4 separate regions of the Homo sapiens genome follow, and regions 2, 3 and 4 are each linked to region 1. Evidence: promoter capture Hi-C in human tissues and cell types (Jung and others, 2019). All regions are on one chromosome and are shown on one strand. The core of a region is centred on a gene start or on the middle of the fragment in contact, and the rest is flanking DNA. Distances in the headings are between cores, read along the strand shown.

What was found. The method cuts DNA at HindIII sites, captures the fragments that hold promoters and counts their contacts. A contact is called where the count stands out against the background at its distance.
Region 2: a contact is called between a fragment that was not itself captured here and the fragment with the promoter of KCNE1 in region 1, in 1 of the 25 tissues and cell types used here (spleen).
Region 3: a contact is called between a fragment that was not itself captured here and the fragment with the promoter of KCNE1 in region 1, in 1 of the 25 tissues and cell types used here (lymphoblastoid cells).
Region 4: a contact is called between a fragment that was not itself captured here and the fragment with the promoter of KCNE1 in region 1, in 1 of the 25 tissues and cell types used here (dorsolateral prefrontal cortex).

Annotation. Positions count from the first base shown.
Region 1 is chr21:34,510,802-34,513,646 of GRCh38, forward strand. It overlaps KCNE1 (potassium voltage-gated channel subfamily E regulatory subunit 1), which reads right to left and starts at 1,409. Exons shown (of 4, transcript NM_000219.6): 1 at 1,226-1,409; 2 at 300-514. The HindIII fragment of the contact is 8,709 bases long and covers 1-2,845 here.
Region 2 is chr21:33,533,412-33,536,256 of GRCh38, forward strand. It overlaps GART (phosphoribosylglycinamide formyltransferase, phosphoribosylglycinamide synthetase, phosphoribosylaminoimidazole synthetase), which reads right to left. Exons shown (of 22, transcript NM_000819.5): 3 at 1,814-1,909; 4 at 1,168-1,342. Among named protein-coding and RNA genes, the nearest start is that of GART, 7.3 kb to the right of the region's middle. The HindIII fragment of the contact is 3,274 bases long and covers 1-2,845 here.
Region 3 is chr21:33,855,150-33,857,994 of GRCh38, forward strand. ITSN1 (intersectin 1) reads left to right here. Exons shown (of 40, transcript NM_003024.3): 30 at 1,587-1,708. Among named protein-coding and RNA genes, the nearest start is that of ATP5PO, 59 kb to the right of the region's middle. RefSeq lists an enhancer at 2,372-2,845. The HindIII fragment of the contact is 7,666 bases long and covers 1-2,845 here.
Region 4 is chr21:33,950,432-33,953,276 of GRCh38, forward strand. The region is part of intron 2 of LINC00649 (long intergenic non-protein coding RNA 649); the gene reads left to right. Among named protein-coding and RNA genes, the nearest start is that of LINC00649, 21 kb to the left of the region's middle. The HindIII fragment of the contact is 6,850 bases long and covers 1-2,845 here.

The sequences.
Region 1 (2,845 bases), core at 159-2,658:
AGCTCTCTCAGGCTGTCAGGACCTGGCGCTGGGAGGCACTAGGCCATGCCCTGGCCTGAGGCCTTCTCTCTCCCTCTTTGCCCTGTGTCTCTGCAGGGAAGCCCGGCCCTGCCCCTGGGAGGGTGGGGGCAGACGTGTGGAGAGTGGGTGTACAAGGCCAGGGTTTGCCAGGCCCAGGACAGCCTGGCACCTGTCAATGGATGAGCGCCTCTCCCTTAGCCTGATGTCAGGGTGGGCATGAGGGTGGGAGCAGAGGGTGCCTAACTGAGGAAAGGGTCTGTGCAACCCCCTTCTCCTACCAGTTCTCGTTTCTGAAGTCTCCTCAAGCACACTGCGGTGTCCACACCATTGGCAGCAGGCTCCTTCTCTTCAGGTGGTCTTAGGAACTTCTCAGAACTTTTTGAGTTATCCTTCTGGTCTCTTCCTCCTGAGCACGGTTCTCCTGGTTGAGCTCCAGGCCATGCCATTCAACGCCCTCCAGGACAGGCCGAAGGGCTTGTCTGTTTGGTGGTTGCTAAGGTTTGAAAAAAGCCAGCTGGAAACTTAATCCCCAAAGCAACAGTGTTGGGAGGTGGGACCTAATGGGAGGTGTTTAGTCATGAGGGCTCCACCCTTATGAATGGATTCTCTCTCTCTTGTTCTCTCTCTCTCTCTTCCCGCCCCGCCCACCCCTCCTTCCCCAACCTTGTGATACCTTCCACCATGTCATGGCAAGAAGGCCCTTGCCAGATGTGGCCCCTCCATCCTGGGTTCCCAGTCTCCAGAACCATGAGCCAAATGCATTTCTGTCTGTTACAAATTATGTACGGTGTGGTTTTCTGTGATGAACACAGTGCTGTACCAGGGCCCTCTTGCCAAGACAGCCAGCTTATAGGAGCCTGCATGTGAGGCCCGGACGTCCTACAGAGCAGCAGTTAGAGGTCTGGCCTTCTGGATAGGCACTGCCCTGCCCTGCACACAGGACCTTGGTGGGGCATGATGGGGCTCTTCACCACGCTGCCCTCATTTTAGGAGGTGGGCAACCCTTTCTCCCCCTTCTCCATGTGCTTCTGCAGTTGGAAGAAGTGAGGGGGGTTCAGACACACTTAAGCTGAGCTTAGAGCAAAGCATGTCCCTCAAGGTGACCTTGCCGCATGGCCTGAACCTAGAATTCCCCTGACCAGGGTGGACAGCCATCACCATGGGCCTTTCTGCCTGGCCTAGTATGGCTCTCCTTCGAACTCACCTAGACCCTTGCATCAAAGGACTCGGGGACTCTGCTGCAGTCATCCTAGCACGGTCGAGAGGAGTAGGAAGGTGCCCAGCGGCTCAGCCTTTAAGGAGGTCTATTGGTCACCATTGCTTCTGCCTTCTTGAGAACCATCACCCTCGGAGGATCCGGTAGTGTATCCCAGTCAAGTGTCAAATGCGTTGTTCCCTGGAGAGGAAGGCTTATTTCCAGAAAGTACTCTGACGTTTTGTAATTTGTGATTTCTATCACTGGCTCAGTGGCCTACCCACTGCTCAGCTCATGTGGCATGACCAGGCTGGGGCGTCGGGTCATCTTGTTCTCTGGGTGTGTGGCAACACTGGTTTATGGCGTAATTTCCTTCCTGAGAAGAAATTCAGTAATTTCTAATATTCAGGGCTTTAGGTAGAGGCCTGAAAATCACTCTCCATGCCTCTTTCAGTATTTTATATATAGTTGTCTCTTGGTATCCATGGGGTTTGGTTCCAGAATCCCCTGCAGATACCAAAATTTGCGAATGTTCAAGTCCTTTATATATAGTGGCATAGTATTTGCATATAACCTATGCATATCAGCCAATCATAGATGGTGATTTAAATCATCTCTTGATTACTTCTAACACCTAATACTATGTAAATGCTTTGTAAGTAGTTGTTACCTGGCATTTTTTTATTTGTTTTATTTTTGTTGTTGTTTCATTAATTTTATTTTATTTTTGGAATATTTTCAGTCCATTGTTGGTTGAATCCACAGATGCAGAAGCCTTAGACACAGAGGGCCGACCACACCTATGTATGCTGTTCTTAAAGTAGCAACATATTTGTTCTGAACATAGAAGAAATTAGTCGTCTATTAGACTTTAAGGGAGTAAATATGGTCCAAGTTGATTTTTAAATTTAGCAAATAGTCATAGACATATCAGTGTCTTACAGAAAATATTTATTGGAATGCTCACTCTCTCATTTGGGATACTGCTTTGCCTTGCTGTGTCTTAAGAATGTCATCAGAGCATCACACACTTGAAAAACGTTTTTAAAAGGATATGATGATAATTAAGACCTTCTCCCCAACCCCTGCCCATTATCCAAGATCAATGTTTTTTTCCTTTATCCTGATTTTAAAATCAAGTACACTTTATTGAGGCATACTTTACATGAAGCAAAATGTACCCTTTCTAAATATGATAAGTTTGATGAGTTTTCAACAGATGTATACAGCTGTTACCATGACTGTGTCTTTACCCAGGTTCTTGCATTGCTCAATCCAGATACAGAATGTCTCCATCACCCTGACAAGTTCCTTTGTGCCGCACCCTCTAGCCAATCATCTGTTTTGAGGAGAGTTTTAAAACAAAGGTTTTTGTTCTTTTTCACTGATGACCATAACCTACCACAGACAGGGTCTCTCTCTCTCTCTCTCTCTCTTTTTCCCTGTTCTTGCGCCAGCTGCCTGACAATTTGTGGGATTAAAGCTCTAAGCTGCTTACTGGCTCTTCTGACTAGGGAGAGGGAGCAAGCCTCATTATTTTTCTATTCTTTTCAGTGACTGCTCACTCCTCTTCCTCCAAAATCCCTATCCATCCATCCATCCATCCATCCATCCATCCATCCATCCATC
Region 2 (2,845 bases), core at 143-2,642, 980 kb before region 1:
TCCGGCCTGGGTGAAAGAACGAGACTCAAAAAAAAAAAAATAAATAAATAAATAAAAATAAAAATAAATAAATAAATAAATAAAATAAAATGGCAATAGTGGTGGCAGATGACCAAGTGATGATTACTCACTCTGGTTAATTATTTATGACAAAAAAAATCAATGTTCTTTATGTTGTAAGATGCCACTGCGTTTGTCAATCTGACCGTGAGGCCTAGTGTTACGGCTCATGCCTGTAATCCCAGCACTTTGGGAGGCAGAGAGAGGCGGATCTCTTGAGCTTAAGAGTTTGAGACCGGCCTGGGAAACATGGTAAAACTCCGTCTCTACAAAAAATATAAAAACTAGCTGGGAGTAGTGGTGTGTGCCTATTGTCCCAGCTACTTGGGAGGCTGAGGTGGGAGGATCACTTGAGTCCAGGAAGCAGAGGCTGCTGTGAGCCAAGATCACGCCACTGCACTCCAGCCTGGGTGACAGAGAGAGGCCCCGTCTCAGGTTGGGGGGTGGTGGTGGGGGGCGGGGAACCAAAAACCAAAAACATGGCTGTGAAGAGCGCACAACTGCAGAACCAAGTGTATTTTTCCCCTGAGGAACTACTCAGATTTTATTAAAAATGTCATCTTCCTGCAAGGCCACAAGATCATATAAACTCTGTATGCATAGGATCCCATTTTATTTTGGTTCTGGAAAACGACAACCCACATAATATTTATTGAGAAAGTTTTTTCCTTAATTATCTTACTACATCTTGAGACAGCCTAAAGACCTAGCATTACATTTTCAACACAGAAGTGACCTGTATATTTATTTAATTTTTTTGAGACAGGGTCTCACTCTGTCACCCAGGCTGCAGTGCAGTGGCACAATCTTGGCTCAGTGCAGCCTCCGCCTCCTGGGTTCAAGTGATCCTCCCACCTTGGCCTTTAGAGGAGCTGGGACTACAGGTGCACACCATCATGCCCGGCTTTTTTTTTTCTGTATTTTTTGTAGAGACAGGGTTTTACCATGGTACCCAGGCTGGTCTCTAACTCCTGAGCTCAAGTGATTCACCTGCCTTGGCCTCCCAAAGTGCTGGGATTACAGGTGAGCTACTGTGCCTGGCCACTGACCTGTGTATTTAAATATCAAAACTAAACAACTGTCCTTCACAGACAACCATTTACCTACCTCAAAATGAAGCTGCAGGCTTCTTCAGGTTTGGTGAAAGCCTTCCATTGTGCGGTTGGGATTCCATGTCTGTCCATAAACTCTTTGGCAAACCTTTTGCTGGACTCTAACTGAGCCGCTTCTGCTGTTGGGCCAAAGCATTGCACTCCTGCAGACCTCAGGTTCCCAACAATCCCTATTGATGAAAACAGTAGCCTTAGGTGAACCAAGGTCTCCCCAGGGGCTTTTCAGCCTGAAGACGAATTAGTATCAGACTATATCTACATCTAGACAAGGCAGATGACTGGTGGCAGAGGATAACTAACTTTTTCATGTTGTCTACTGGATAGAGATAAAATGCTATTAACATGTTATTCAAATCTATCAAAAGTTGTTATATTTGCATATATGGATTATTAAACACACACCAGAATACAGCAGAATAAAGACATATAAAATGTTTTCCATGGCTGCAAATTTGATCTCTAACTCATCATATAACTGATGCTTGGGAAAAAAAATCTAGACTCCATAAATTTCGAGAGTGGAAGCTCTTTTTCCAAGATAATATTACAAATTCTCATCTGTAAAATGAATTGGATTAGATGATCCCTAAGCTTCTGTTTGCACTGAATATACTGTAACAATAAACAGAAACAAACTTTACCAGCAGCCAGAGGTGCTTCTGGTCCAACAACTACAAATTCAATTTTCTTCTCTTTGCAGAATTGAGCAAGGGCAGTGTGGTCACTGATTGAGATGGCTGTAAACAGAAAAAAAAAAAAAAAAACCACTGCATTTACAAAAACATTCCACTTAAGTAAACTAAGTGTCTCACTAAAAAAACTAAGTTCTATACTTTAGTATGCTTGTTATCTGTTGGTTTTCTTATATTGGCAGAGATGACAGTTTCAACATGTGAAATTCAGAGGAGAGTGCATTAGGCTAACCAACAGAGCTCAGTTCTCCGTTATCATTGTAGACAGATGAAAACACCAATAAACTTCCCAAAGAGCCATAAAGTATCACCTCCATGATATTGTTCACGTCACTAATATTGACTGTATATTAAACAAAAAACGTAAGATATACTCAGAAATTGGTCTTTTAATGTCAATCAATCAATTGTACTGAAAATCCACTATGTGCTAAGTACTGTCCTCAGCACTGGTATTAAGATGTCAACACGGCGGGGCGCGGTGGCTCACGCCTGTAATCCCAGCACTTTGGGAGGCCGAGGTGGGTGGATCACCTAAGGTCAGGAGTTCGAGACCAGCCTGAACAATATGATGAAACCCCGTCTCTACTAAAAATACAAAAAGTAGCTGGGTGTGGGGGCATGCACCTGTAATCCCAACTACTCAGGAGGCTGAGACAGGAGAATCGCTTGAACTGGGGAGGCGGAGGTTGCAGTGAGCCAAGATCGCACCACTGCACTCCAGCCTGGGTAGATAACAAGAACGAAACTCTGTCTCAAAAAAAAAAAAATTTATCAACACAAGCAGGGTCCCTATACTTAACATGTTTACAATACGCTGTAGGAACGCTGGGTAATAAACATACAAACAAAAAAACAGCAAATATGAACAAATTAAGCAAATTTGATATGAAGTGAATTGAGAGGCTATTTTGGGTTGGGTCAGGAGGGATCTCTTTGGGGCAGAGCTGTTTAAGTTAAGAACTCAATGACGCTTTTAAG
Region 3 (2,845 bases), core at 98-2,597, 660 kb before region 1:
CTTGAGAGAAGATGGAAACTCGAGGAACCCCTGCTAGGCCAGAGCAGGCTTCTTGAACATTAGTGCGCCAAAAAACAATCCTCTGGAGAGCTTGTTACATCACAGATACCCAGCCCCCAACTCCAGAGTCACTTCAGCCGGGGCATCTCTAGCAAGCTCCTAGGTGACGCTGATGCTGCCAGCCTGGGGACCACGCTTTGACAACCACTGGTCCCCAGCAGGGGGTTTTGCACTGTGCTCCATTGTGCCCCCTTGAGGGGAACAGAAGGGATGGGAAGAACAAGTAAAGGGGATTCAGCCCGGACTCTCCCACCTACATTCGGGACACCTCTGGGTCTGTCTTCCAAGTCTGGCTTCTGTGATTAAATAAAGAACCTCTGATAAAAAAGAGAGGTGGGTCCAGGCCTGCACATGGGATGCTCCCAAGAACCAAGCCTCCCTCCTGCTCATTCCAGTGTGTCTGGGGCAGGAGGCTCAAATGTTCAAACAAAACCCCAAATAACAAGCTAAGTGGGCAGAGTCATGAGTGAGCCCCACTTCCAGTGCAGGCACCATCTCAGGGCAGTGGAGTGGCCCTTCCCGTCGGGCAGCCTTGGCCTCCATGATGGTCTTGTGCCAGGCTCTCTGCAGTGGGAAGGACTACCCTCTCTGTGGCAAGCATGCTGCTCAGCTGCCCCAGGGGCCAGGCAGCAGCTTTGTCCAGGAGAGTGTGCCCAGTGCTGTCTGGAGGCACCCTGCATCTGCCTGGTCCCCAGGACCATCAGAGCCTCAGCACAGCCACCTCATCCTCCACAAACCAACCTCGACATGGATAACCCATGGCCTCCTGGAGCTCGGGGATAGAGCACAGCCTCTGCAGCCCAAGTCTCAGGGTTTGGCTCTTGCCTTCACCACTTCCAAGCTGAGAGACCTGGGGCCAGTCAACCTGTGTAAACCTCGGTGTCCTCGTCTGTGAAATGGGGATAATTCTAGTATAATACTTGAGCATTAAATGCAGTTCACCACCTGACATGGTGTGAGCCCTCCAGAGTTTTGGCCAATCGTCATTGAGTGTTTTGTTTTCACATTATTTTCGTGTTTCTGATGAAGCAGGAGTGTGCCGCCTGTATCAGTTTCTAGGGTGCCCTAACAAACGACCACAAACGGGGGGACTTAAAACAATAAGAATTTATTGCCATACATTCCTGGAGGCCGGAAGTCTAAAATGGAAGATGCTGGCAGGTGCCAGCCTCACTCTGAGGGCTCGGGGTGTGTCTTGGTTTGGAAACACATCACTCCAGGTTCTGCCTGTCTGTCTCTGTCTTCTTCTCATAAGGACACTGATCATATAGGGTCAGGACCCAACCCTGAGTATGACTTTATCTTAATTTGATTATATATGAAAAGACTATTTCCAAATAAGGTAACGTTCACAGGTACCAGGGGGTAGGGCTTCCACATATTACTGGGGAGGACACATTTCAGCCCATGACCCCACTGGACTGGAGCAAGCCCTCAGGACCCAGCAGCCACGAGGATCTTCCGTGTGAAGTTGTGTGGGCTTCCCCAGACTGTGCTAAGTTCTCCCAAATGGTTGTGTTTTCCAGGGTGTTCAGACTTACATCTCTTGGATATGTTGACCCCAACTGAAAGAAAGCGACAAGGATACATCCACGAGCTCATTGTCACCGAGGAGAACTATGTGAATGACCTGCAGCTGGTCACAGAGGTAAGGGAGCTGGTGGGGCAGGGGGCACGGCAGGGGGCGATGACGGAGGGAGAGGGGAGGGTTCCGTCAAGGAGGTCTATGTCCTGATTCTGAGCCCAAGAAACTTTCTGATGTTTGAGGAGCATCTGGATGGCAAATGCTATAGGAGATTGCGACCGCAGAGACGGTTCGTTGCTTATCCATGGCCAACATTGAGTCATTCCCACAGAGGGACAGAGATCACTTAGCCAAGGGCAAGTGAGTCCCTGAGCAGTTGATGGATGGAGTCATGTGAACTGAGAGTCTGGAGTCCACGCTCTACTCAGAGCAGCTGCAGCTCAGCCACCAACCAGGAGGTGCCATGGAGCCAGCCACGCCGCCCTCCTGGCCCGCAGTGTTGGCATCTGGAAATGGGGGGCCATCTGGCTGCTGTCTCGAGTCATTCCTGCCATATGTTACCCTGAGACAAACCTGTCACTGAGAATGGCAACGTTTCCTCCCAGGCCCCCACAAAAGCCCCTGACCTGAGTGATGCCTCCTCATCTTGTCAGTCCTCCCAGAAGGGCCCTGGCCACCTCATCCAGAACTATGGGGAGATGCGGAGCCCGGCGCTCCTGCTGCTCAGCAGGCCTTTTGTCCACGTCCATGGGAAGATGCCATATTGGGAGACAGGGATTTGCAGAGATGGACCTGCAGTTTGGAGAGTGCTGTGGTAGTCTGGCAACCACCACACCAAACGGGTGTGAAACCATCTTGTCTGATAGTCTTAACATCCAGGAAAGACGCAGCAGGGCTCGCCGCTGTTGGAGGAGTACAGGGTGGGTTGTTAGCTGCAGGACCACCATTAATACTTAGGAAGCATTGATGCAAACTCAAAAAGGTGCCCCTTTCTCAAGGTGTTTGACTGTTATTAAATATGCAGTTCAGGATGTCCAGGGTGCAAGTGTCACTCCTTAGATATGGCTCCTTTTTGCACTCTGCAAAACGCACCACCATATGTGGTTGCCCTGGTACATGCCGGGTTCAACGTCGGCTTAAGGACTCCTGTGGAATAGGACTCCCAGGGAGCAGCCGCAGCCCAGCCAAGTTTATGTCGAAGATGGGCTGTCCCCTTCCCTAAAGAGCCTTCAGAAGCGCCTCCTGTGGGAGAAAATGACC
Region 4 (2,845 bases), core at 109-2,608, 560 kb before region 1:
AGGGCAGGGAGAGGGACACGTTGGTGGTCAAGAAGAGGGAAATGAGGAGGGGCTTTTGGAGATCCCGCCAAAGAGGTGTTCTGTGAACCCCTCCCGCTGACACACCTACTGAAGGGTCCACTGAGACAGCAAAGCAGGAAGGGTGGAAAGGGTCCGCCAGGGGCAGTGCCTGACATGTGCTAGAGGTGACGTAGAATCTGGGATCAGCGACAAAAGATCACACCTAGAACCGTGGTCAAGGATGTGAGCCAGATTTTCTGGGGCTCAGTCCTGGGTTTGTCACTTAACTGTGTCACTTGGAGCAAGTCACATACCTCTGGCAGTCTCAGTTGCTCATCAGAAAAATGGGAATTTTATATATATATATAAAAAATATAATTATATATTTATTTATAATATGTGTATATATAATTATATGATTATAATAATCACAAATGGGATTATATATAATATATAATTATACATTAATTTATAATATATATTTATTTATAATATATGTGTGTATATATACGCATATATACATATGTATGTATGTCTATATCTCTATCTTTCGGGTTGTTTTGAGAATTAAATGACCTAACCCATGTAAAGCCCTGTGTACCGTGCCTGGCATGTAGGATACTTCATCACTGTCACCTGTTTTTGTTGTTATGACCTGAGCATCTCCCTGTTCACCAGCCCTTGTTCTTTAGCCACAGGTTGAAGATGACAGTAGATCCTAAGGAACCTCAGTTCTATCCCGAAATGCGAAGGCCTTTTTACTCAACCACAAAGAAGTGGTCAGCAGAAAACTGGTCATCCCGGCCTCTGGGGCCATGCACAGCACTCAGGAGGAGCTACTATTTTCCCTGCCTGTTTACATGCGGCCTGGGGCCTTGTGGGCTATTTGAAAATTAGGACACGAGAAGTCCAAGCAGCACCTGGTAATTAAACTGAGTCCTCTATCAGAGAGAGGCGTGACCTTGAAGGGCATCCATACAGGAGCCAGGGGCAAAGCAGAAGGTGGGAGGGATTCTCCAGGCTTGACCCTCTCAGCACATCTCAGTCAGGGGTGCCTGGCAGCCTAGATTCCAGCCCTGCCCAGTGCCACCCAGAGACCTGAGGGAGGTGGACAGCTGCTCAGCTGGGTGATGGGAGCCTCTAGAAATAGTTGTCAACCTCATCAAACCAGAGATGAGCCCTTAGGACAGCCAGGGTGTTGATTTCCAGCCAGGCAGGGCATTGGTTCTCCAGTGGGATGTGGACAAGGTTCACTGCAGCCTCTCAGCAGATGAACTAGGGGAGAGACACTACCCCAACCATGCTCCCCCGACCCTTCGGTGTTAAGTGAAAGTATCTTCCTTTTTTCTCTCTGCTCTCTCCGCTTTACAACAAAATATTATCTTTAGTCTGCAAAACCAGGGCCAGGAAGAATCTTCACAGCTAGACAGGGCCATGGAAAGATGATGAGGCATATCAGGAACTATGTAATCTTGTAATACTTCTGCTGCAAAACCTCCTGACGTTCTGAATGAACAGTCACATGCAGCCTCTTCAGTGCAAAACTGAGCTCATAAGAAAGTAAAGCAAATCTGTAGGGGCCAAATGAAGAGTGAACTGGAAGTCAGAGCTTCAAGTACATGACTGATGTGGTGTATCCCTTGGGGATGGGGGTGTACACGCTGGTTTTGGGAAGCAGGGCACTTGGGTTTGAAAGTTCATCCAGGACATTTGTGTGACTCTCAGTTTTTGAATATTGGTGAATAGTGCTGCTTAGAACATTCTGGTATGTGAGTTTTTGTTGCACATAAGGTATTTATGTTGAACAAATATTTAAGAGAAAAATTATTGAATTTAGGTATGTATAACCTCAGATTTGGAGAATACTGCTAAACAGTTTTTCAAAGTTGCTGTTCATTTTAAATAACAGCATATGGGCCAGGCACTATTGCTCATGCCTGTAATCCCAACACTTTGGGAAGCCAAGGCAGGAGGATTGCTTGAGGCCAGAAGTTTGAGACCAGCCTGGGCAATATAGTGAGACCCCATCGCTACAAAAAATTAAAATATTAGCTGGGCATGGTGGCGTGCACCTGTAGTTCCAGCTACTCAGGAAGCTGTGATAGGAGGATCACTTGAGTCCAGGAAATGGAGGCTGCAGTGAGCTTTGATCGCGCCAATGCACTCCAGCCTAGGCAACAAAGTGAGACCATGTATCAAAAAAAAAAAAAAAAAAAAAAGTCCAACAGCAATGACAACAGTGTAGGAGCATTCTAATTGCTCCACATCCTCAATTTGTATTGTCTTTTCCTCAGGCTTATTTTAATCACTCTGGTTGGATTTGCATTTCTTTCTTTCTTTTTTTTTTTTCTTGAGATGGAGTCTCACTCTGTCACCAGGTTGGAGTGCAGTGGCATGATCTCAGCTCACTGCAACCTCCGCCTCCCAGGTTCAAGCAGTTCTCTTGCCTCAGCCTGCTGAGTAGCTGGGACTACAGGTGTGTGCTACCATGCCCAGCTAATTTTTGTATTTTTAGTAGAGATGGGGTTTCACCATGTTGGCCAGGATGGTCTCGATCTCTTGATTGAGATTGTGATCTGCCCACCTCGGCCTCCCAAAGTGCTGGGATTACAGGTGTGAGCCACTGTGCCTGACCTTGGATTTGCATTTCTAGGATGATGAATGAGAGTGTACTTTCTCATATGTATTGTGGCAATTTGATACCTGCTTTTATGAAGTGTTTGTTCAAGTATTTTGCTCATTTTTTCTATTGGGTCATCTGTATTTTTCTTACTGATTTACAGTTTATACTTGATTTATAGATTTGTTTGAAATATAAATCCTGGTGACCATAAATATATTGCAA